Regions from separate parts of the Homo sapiens genome. Here region 1 is linked to region 2. Evidence: promoter capture Hi-C in human tissues and cell types (Jung and others, 2019). All regions are on one chromosome and are shown on one strand. Each heading gives the region's core, a stretch centred on a gene start or on the middle of the fragment in contact. The rest is flanking DNA. Distances are from core to core; before and after follow the strand shown.

Evidence for each region. The method cuts DNA at HindIII sites, captures the fragments that hold promoters and counts their contacts. A contact is called where the count stands out against the background at its distance.
Region 1: a contact is called between a fragment that was not itself captured here and the fragment with the promoter of TACC2 in region 2, in 4 of the 25 tissues and cell types used here (heart left ventricle, liver, pancreas and 1 more).

The regions. Positions count from the first base shown.
Region 1 is chr10:121,917,663-121,922,052 of GRCh38, forward strand. All of the region lies in intron 3 of ATE1 (arginyltransferase 1), which reads right to left. Among named protein-coding and RNA genes, the nearest start is that of ATE1, 8.2 kb to the right of the region's middle. The HindIII fragment of the contact is 7,719 bases long and covers 1-4,390 here.
Region 2 is chr10:121,987,336-121,992,362 of GRCh38, forward strand. It overlaps TACC2 (transforming acidic coiled-coil containing protein 2), which reads left to right and starts at 1,828. Exons shown (of 23, transcript NM_206862.4): 1 at 1,828-2,153. The HindIII fragment of the contact is 30,860 bases long and covers 1-5,027 here.

The DNA of each region.
Region 1 (4,390 bases), core at 720-3,219, 70 kb before region 2:
ACAATTATATAAGCATGTTGCTTAAAGACAGGGAGATGAAAAACCAAAAGAATTAGTTAAAATGTTTCAAGATGACTGCCTTAGGGGAACAGGAAATGGGACAGGGGGGTTGGGGGATTGCTTTTTCCAAAACAAACTTTATTGCAACTTGACATTTAATGAGCATGTGGAATTCTGATAAAAATAAAAAACTTAAAAAATCATAGCCAGAAAAGTTCATCCTCATTTATACACACATACTGGAGAGTCCCTACTGACTAACAAGAAGCTAAGCTGTTAGCTATAAGCCCCTTTCCTTTATCTAAGTTCTCATTGCAACTGCTGTTATATACAAGGTAAAAATAACCAGAAGAGTAAATATGGAAAATGACTCCATAAAAAGATGATGTGGCTGGGCCCAGTGGCTCAACGCCTGTAATCCCAGCACTTTGGGAGGCCAAGGCAGGCGGATCATGAGGTCAGGAGTTCCAGACCAACCTGGCCAATATGGTGAAACCCCGTCTCTACTAAAAATACAAAAATTAGCAGGGCATGGTGGCATGCGCCTGTAGTCCCAGCTACTCAGGAGGCTGAGGCAGAAGAATCACTTGAACCTGGGAGGCGGAGGTTTCAGTGAGCAGAGATCGCGCCACTGCACTCCAGCCTGGGAGACTAAACAAGATTCTGTCTCAAAAAAAAAAAAAAAAGATGATGTATAATGAATTACAAAGAGACGCAATTCAGGAAACATTTGATGCCACGTAAAATGCAAAAATCACATAACTACTTTATTTTGCAATGTTAATGAATCCCCTTTTATAAAGGCAATATGCTTAGAATAGTGCTTTCCATGTAACAGGCACCAAATACAATTTAGATTCTTTTTTCTTTAACCAATCGAAATCACCCTTTTCTGATCACAGATTAAGCCAATCAACTTCAAACTTATGAATAGAATCCTGTCCATAATCCAATAAATTGCTAATTGAAGACAAATGACTTCTGCCTTAGAAGATACCTTCTCTTTATAACCACGAAAACTGAAAGAGGACAGCACAGGATACTCTGTCATTCTATTCTTTGTGTAATGACACAGTGTCAGCAAACCAGACCCCATTTTTCTCATCCTCTGCCAATCCAACGGCCAGCTGGACTTCTGGGTCGGGGCGGGGGTGGGGGGGACGTGAAGAACTTTTCTTACAAGAGGATTGTAAAATGCACCAATCAGCTCTCTGTAGCTAGGATTGTAAAACGCCCCAATCGGCGCTCTGTAGCTAGCTAGAGGATTGTAAAACGCACCAATCAGTGCTCTGTGGCTAGAGGTTTGTAAAATGGACCAATCAGCACTCTATAAAATGGACCAATCAGCACTCTATAAAATGGACCAATCAGCACTCTGTAAAATGGACCAATCAGCAGGACATGGGCAGGGACAAATAAGGGAATAAAAGCTGGCCACCCTACCCAGCAGTGGCAACCCACTAGGGTCCCCTTCCACACTGTGGAAGGTTTGTTCTTTCACACTTCACAATAAATCTTGCTGCTGCTCATTCTTTGGGTCTGCGTCACATTTAAGAGCTGTAACACTCACTGCGAAGGTCTGCGGCTTCATTCTTGAAGTGAGCGAGACCAAGAACCCACCAGAAGGAACCAACTCCAGATACACCAGCACTTTGGGGGGCTGAAGCGGGCAGATCACCTGAGGTCAGGAGTTCGAGACCAGCTTGGCCAACATGGTGAAACCCATCTCTACTAAAAATATCAAAAAAATTAGCCAGGTGTGGTGGTGCACGCCTGTAATCCCAGCTAGTCGGGAGGCTGAGGCAGGAGAATCGCTTGAACACGGGAGGCAGAGGTTGCAGTGAGCCGAGATAGCACCACTGCACTCCAGCCTGGGCGACAGCAAGACTCCATCTCAAAAAAAAAGCTCCTAATCAAGTATCAGTGAACCTTTGGGAGTCTGCGATCATTCTAAAATTAACACGCAAAATGTGCTGGGCATGGTGGCTCACGCCTGAAATCCCAGCACTTTGAGGTGGGTAGATCACGAGTTCGAGAGTAGCGCGGCCAACATGGTGAAACCCCGTCTCTACTAAAAACACAAAAATTAACCAGGCCTAGCGGTGGGCATCTGTAGTCCCGGATACTCAGGTGGCTAAGGCAAGAGCACTGCTAGAACCCAGGAGGCGGACACTGCAGTGAGCTGAGATCACACCACTGCACTCCAGCCTGGGTGACACAGCAAGACTCAGTCTCGGTGGGGAGGATATGCAAAATGTTACATATTTTTGTCTACATCCCTTTGGGCAGGAGGCCAGCTCTCATCGACTTCTCAAAATGGTTTGCAACCCAAAAACAAGTTAAGAGCAACCAAGGGAGACAGCTTTGAGGACCAAACAAAAAAACTAATGGACAAAAAACTGTTTAATTTTTTAATTTTTCATTTCTTAAAGTAAAACTGTCTTTTAATTTTATGAGTATATATACACATTGAAATTGGGGGCAAATACATGCTTCAAAATGTTAACGCACTTTTCACATTTTCTATCAAAAAAAAAGGTTCAGGTGCAGTAGTAGCTCACACCTATAATCCCAGCACTTTGGGAGGCTGAGGCAGGAGGCTCCTTTGAGCCTAGAAGTTGGAGATCAGCCTAGGAAACATGGCGAGATCAGCCTAGGAAACATGGTGAGATCTGCCTAGGAAACATGGCAAGACCCCTTTTCTATAAAAAAAAATGTAATTTGCCAGGCCTGGTGGTGTGTACCTACAGTCCCAGCTACTTGGGAGGCTGAGGTGGGAGGATTACTTGAGCCTGGCAGGCAGGCTGCAGTGAGCCATGGTTGTGCTACTGCATTCCAGCCTGAGCAAGACCCTGTCTCAAAAAAAAAAAGAAAAAAGAAGAAAAAGATGATGATGACCTTATAACCAGAATAAGAGAGAAGATTTTTCTATGTTAGGGTGAGGTGAGAAGGTACATGGAAAATCCAAAAGATTATGAAAAAATCCAACGAAGACTTTGTAGGAAAATAGACTTTGGTTTAAGTTTCCCATTTAAGAAAACTGGACTCTGGGCCAGGTGCAGTGGCTCACGCCTGTAATATCAGCACTTTGGGAGGCTGAGGCAGGTGGATCATGAGGTCAGGAGTTCAAGACCAGCCTGGCCAACATAGTGAAACCCCATCTCTACTAAAAATACAAAAAATTAGCCGGGCGTGGTGGCAGGCACCTGTAATCCCAGCTACTCGGGAGGCTGAGGCAGGAGAATCACTTGAACCCAGGAGGCAGAGGTTGCAGTGAGCCGAGATCGCGCCATTGCACTCCAGCCCAGGCGACAGTGCGAGACTCCGTCTCTTTAAAAAAAAAAAAAAAAAACTGGACTCTAAGTGTAAGTGGCAGATTAAATTTAAGCCCTCTTCCTTCCAATTAATTTTTTTTTCAACTTTTATTTTAGATTCAGGGGGTATAGGTACAGGCTGGTGACCTGGATATATTGCATGATGCTGAGGTTTGCAATATGGATGATCCCACCACCCAGGTACTGATCGTCATACCAAGTTGGTTTTTCAACCCTTAGCTCACGCCCTCCCTCCTCCTCTAGTAGTCTCCAGCTTCTACTTTTGCCATCTTTATGTCTGAGTACCCAAGGTTTAGCTCCCACTTATAAGTGAGTGAGGTGGGAAATTAAAGAAAAATAAAATTAAAAAGAAAGATAAATAAGCTTTCCTGTATTAGGCCGACTTGTCCCAGAGGCAGCAACAGGCACGGCCCAGACCCAGGAAAAGCCTTGATAATATTATCTAGTGTGCTCTGGAGATTCTCCCAGCACTCAACATGCAGAGAAGAAAAAATAAATTTTCCTTTGTTTTACGGAATGAGTTCATAGATTCCTGTTCTCTGTAACTAGTGACTTCAAGTATTGTTTTATCTGAGAAGTACAATGAATGTCATGAGAAGCCTGAGTAGGCCTGAACTGCAGCTGCCTGGGCACCATAGTGAAGATTATGGGATAAGCCCAGGCAAACCTAGATAACGGACATCTGGGTTGCTTGGCAACGGTCATGTGCAATCCTGAGTTTGTCCTGCCTCTGTATCCCTGCTTTCACGCCACTGTAAGCTTGCTTCAAGCTAGCCCACCCCCTTCTGTGAACTGTGTATAAAAGTCTTTGTTCCGGGCCCAGTCTTTTAGACGTTGAGTCAGCTGGGCCTAAGTGCACTCAATAAAGTTTCTCCTGTTTTAACCCGAGGTCTCTCTTGTCCTCCTGAATCCCACAACATGAGAACGTGAACCTACCAAGTAATTTATAGGAGCCTGTAGCATTGCTTGAACACAAGCACTGTGTCAAGCAATACACCAGAATGCAGAAAATTCTAAGCTAAGTCCTATAATATTTAATATCCAAAAGTAATGTG
Region 2 (5,027 bases), core at 578-3,077:
GTTTAATTTGAAAGTAAAGATTATAATAGTCCCTCCCTAAAACTAACCCCCTCCTTTCTCAGGGACCAAAATCGCCTTTGTAAGACTAATGAAAGGCCACAGGAATAGGATAATGGGAGAAGGCAGAACTCTGCTAAAATGTAGGCATAGTTTCTATAGTCCCTTAATGCCCAGGGGTCATGTGGCCAGAGTTCACAAGATCTGTGACTTTCCCAATTGCTCCTGTAAGTAACATCACTATTGTAGAACTTAAGATTGGGGTGTTTGTTTGTTTGTTTGTTTTTGTATTTTTAGTAGAGACGGGGTTTCACCATCTTGGCCAGGCTGGTCTCGAACTCCTGATCTTGTGATCCACCCACCTGGGCCTCCCAAAGTGCTGGGATTACAGGCGTGAGCCACCGCGCCCAGCCAAGATTGAGTTTTTTAAGATGTTTTTCAGACTGACCTCACTCAGACTCATGACTCATGACTCAACAGGTCCTGGGGCCCCACCCAGAGGCAGACTCAGTGCATGAGGACTGCTTTCCACACCGGTATGATTTCATCCCCAACCAATCAGCGGCACTATCCCCCTACCCCCTGACAACCAAATTGTCCATAAAAACCCTTGTTCCGAGCCTACAGGGAGACTGATCTGAGGGATAACTCCAGTTCTCCCACGTGGGCTCAGCCTCGCGGCAGTTAAACTCTTTCTCTATTGCAATGCCATGGTCTCAGTGAATTGATTTTTGTCTGTGCAGTGGGGAAGAAGAACTTGTTGGGTGGCTCCAGAACCATCTGTATAATGATGAATAAGACAAAGTCCCTACTCTCATGGAGGAGACAGATAATAAAGAAAAGAAAAAAAAAGGATTTGGTCATTGTAAGTGCTATGAAGAATTTAAATAGGCTAAAGGGATAGGTGGAGAATAGAAGTTGCATTTTTTCTTTCCCTCCAGATAGAGTCTCACTCTGTCACCCAGGCTGGAGTGCAGTGGTGCGATCTTGGCTCACTGCAACCTCCACCTCTGGGTTCAGGCAGTTCTCCTGCCTTAGCCTCCTAAATAGCTGGGATAGCAGGCACCTGCCACCACGCCCGGCTAATTTTTGTCTTTTTAGTAGAGAGGGGGTTTTACCATGTTCGCCAGGCTGGTCTTGAACTCCTAACCTCAAGTAATCCACCCACCTCGGCCTCCCAAAGTGCTGGGATCACAGGCATGAGTCACTGTGCCCGACCTGAAAGTTGCTATTTTAGGTGTGATGAGCAGCACAACATCTTTCCTGAGGAGGTGACATTTGAGATGTGACTTGAATTGTGAGGAGTAATGTGTCATGCAAAAATACAGGGAAGTCATATTGTAGTCAAAGGCAATAGCAAAAAAAAGTCTTTGGGGTTAAAATAAGTCTGACACATTCAAGAAAGTTCAGAAAGGCATACATACCTGTGTTAGAGTAGGTAGCTAGGGGAACATGAGAAGGGCAGCAGAGGGCATTCCACCCCCACCCCCAACCAGGAATGTCAGGCGACCATCATGTGATGGTCAGGTGGTTGTTACACTGTTTCTCTAAAATCATCATTGGTTGCAGCCAGCACCAGGGAAAGGCCGGCTCCCAATAGATAGAAAACACCTGAAGCTAGTGTCAGCCGCTTCCTGATAAGATCTCAGGAGTTGGGCAAGTGGGCTCAAGCATGGGCCCTAAGGGGCAAAATGTCAGAGTTTAACTAATATATGACCTTCCTCTAGGAATTCTCGACTGGCAAGGGAAAAATGCCTCAAATGAGCACGCGCACAACTTCAGTAAACACACTGTGAGTGCGGCCACTCCCAAGTGCTGGCAGACCACTGCATAAGTGGACAGCCTGCTCCAAGGGAAGGATCAGGAGAGAAGAAACGCAAATCCCAGAACCGTGCCAACATATAAAACCCCACATTAAGGGTTGTACAGTGCACTGGGATTTCTCAAGTCACCCGCTTGGTCCTCTTCCAAGTATACTTTACTTCCTTTCATTCCTCTCTAAAACTTTTTTAAAAACTTTCACTCCTGCTCTAAAAGTTATCTTGGTTTCTTACTCTACCTTATGCCCCTTGGGCGAATTTTTTCCTCTGAGGAGGGAAGAATAGAGTTGCTGCTGCAGACACATCAGATTCCCTACTGGTAACAGCTGGAGTGCGGTAAGTAAGGAGGAGAGGGCTGGAAAATGAAGTTGGCTCTGATTCCCATTACTTGAAAATACAGGGTAGGAAAACCCTATCTTCTTAGGTTCAGTGGCTGGGGAGCACCATCACTCAAGGTGAGAACTGCCTGGCTGAGCCCAGCCAACTCACAGAACTGTATGAGGTATTTTCATCTACTGTGCTAGGCACCTAGTGAGAGCCCTTTTGCGTCTTTCAACTTTGGAAAAAATTATGATTTATTTTTATTTTTTAAATTAATTTTATTTTTTTTTTTTATGTTTTTAGAGATAGGTTCTTACTCTGTCATCCAAGCCAGAGTGCGGTGGCATGATCATGGCTCACTGTAGCCCAGAACTACTGGGCTCAAGTGATTCTCCTGCCTCAGCTTCCCAAGCAGCTGGTACCACAAGCACATGCCAGCATGTGCAGCATGGGAAATATTTTTATGTTACCACCTCGACACTTTCTTCCTTCTACTTTTCTGTGTCATGTCTGCATCTCCCGTCACTTAGATAGGGACCTCACAGTTTGATTCTCCAGACCTTTAATATTTTTTCATATTTTAAATATTTCTTTAATTCTGTTTTTTGAGATATTTTATTAAATTTACCTTCAACCTTCTGTGGATTTTTTTTTTTAGACAGGGTCTTGCTCTACTGCCCAGGCTGGAGTGCAGTGGCATAATGATGGTTCATTGCAGCCTCGACCTCCCGGGCTAACGCAATCCTCCCACCAGGAGCAATCCTCTCAAGTAGTTGGAACTACAGGTGCATGCCACTAAATTCAGCTAATATTTTTTATTTTTTATAGAGATGGGGGTCTCGCCGTGTTGGCCAGGCTGGTCTCAAACCCCTAGGCTCAAGTGATCCTCCTGCCTCAGCCTCCCAAAGTGCTGGGATTATAGGTATGAGCCACCAAACACTGCCAGAATTTTAAATATCAGGATATAGGAAAGGTTTTGCTTTCGTTTTCAATTTTGTTTTTGTCTTATGGCACGGGGCCAGGCAGGGCAAAGGGTAGATTCCATTGACACTTATTTTTAATTTTCTGCCCAAGTACGTTCCCACCATTGTTCCTGGTGTTTCAGACCCTCTCCAGGGTCTGCAGAGTCTTGTTTGGCTGGAGCCCCTTCTACTCTAGTCTAATGCCCCTCTGCCCTAATTCCTCAACTACCAGGCCGTCACTGCTTTCCATTACCCACAACCATGGAGAAAGCTCTCATCAGCTAATGTGCCTTCTCCAGTTTGCCACATTATTACATTATTGTCTGGACATACCTGTTTTTTTGTTGTTGTTGTTTGTTTGTTTGTTTTTGAGACAGGGACTCGCTGTGTTACCCAGGCTGGAGTGTAGTGTTGCCTTCTCGGCTCACTGCAACCTCTGCCTCCCAGGTTCACTCGATTCTCCTGCCTCAGCCCCCTGAGTAGCTGGGATTACAGGCACCTGCCACCACGCCCAGCTAATTTTTGTATTTTTAGTAGAGATGATTTTGCCATATTGGCCAGGCTGGTTTCAAACTCCTGACCTCAAGTGATCCACCTGTCTCAGCCTCCCAAAGTACTGGAATTACAGGTATGAGCCACTACGCCTCATCTGGACCTACTTGTTTTTAAAAATGCCTTTGTTATCATTTTAATGAAGTCTCTTAAAGGAAAGGAGTTGCATTTGTGTGTTCTGTCTTCTTCAGTAAAGAGAGGGCTTTTATTTATTTATTTTATGTATGGAGATAAATGAACCTTAAACATTGTATATTTTTATTTTTATAAATCCACCTGTTTACTGTCATTTCAAACATTACTTTAAATTTATTTTCCCCTCAGAGCTTTTAAATAATCAGGAGCTCTAAGCATTGCCTGGGAAATGTTTTGTTTTCTTTGCGCTGTCCGCCACATGCTAGTGATTTTCAGCAAGGTTGTGTTTACGTGTATTTCAACTGGGCAAATAGGAACTAATATGAAATAAAATAACATTAATCAAACCTGACTTTATGAGCAAGTTTTGAAATAGTTCACATCTCAAATTAAAAATAAGTCTTTTTTGCTAATTAATGAATGAATGTTTTGGTCAAGAATCATTTCAAAGCTGAGCAGCTGAGTGAATGATAGAAACTGCACTCACACTGTTGCTGTATGGTGGCACCATCTCAGCCGGTATACAGAGATGTCTGCAGGTTTTCATCAGGATCATGGGAACTGCACTGTTGTTTACAGACATTGGAACTCTGACTTGTGACTTTAGTGTAATTTAAAACTTTTTTATATCTCAAAGCCATTTGCATTAGTCCATTTTCATGCTGCCGATAAAGACATGCCCAAGATGGGCAATTTACACAGGAAGAAGGTTTAATGGACTCACAGTTCCGTGTGGCTGGGGAGGCCTCATAATCATGGCAGGAGGCAAGGAGGAGCAAGTCACATCTTACATGGATGACAGCAGGCAAAGAAAGAGCTTGTGCAGGGAAACTCCCCTTATAAAATCATCAGATTTCGTGAGACTTATTCACTATCATGAGAACAACATGGGAAAGACCTGCCCCCATGATTCAATTACCTCCCACCAGGTCCTTCCTGCAACAAGTGGGAATTTAAGATGAGATCCGGGTGGGGACACAGCCAAACTGCATCACCATTTCACCCACGTTTTATGTGTTGGTGCTAGTGGGAGTACTAAAAAACTGTTCCCAGATCAATAAACTGGGAACAAAAGTGAGAAGTGGTAGAAAGCTGTGAAGAAGGCCCAGAACAGCCCACCCTGATATGCCAGGCTGTTCTTTTGGAAGAAAGCAGTTTGTACACAAGAGAGGTGATGCTGAGAAAGTGAAAAACCTGAAGGTTTTAAGAGCCGAAAAAGTGCTAATGTGAAAACACGCCA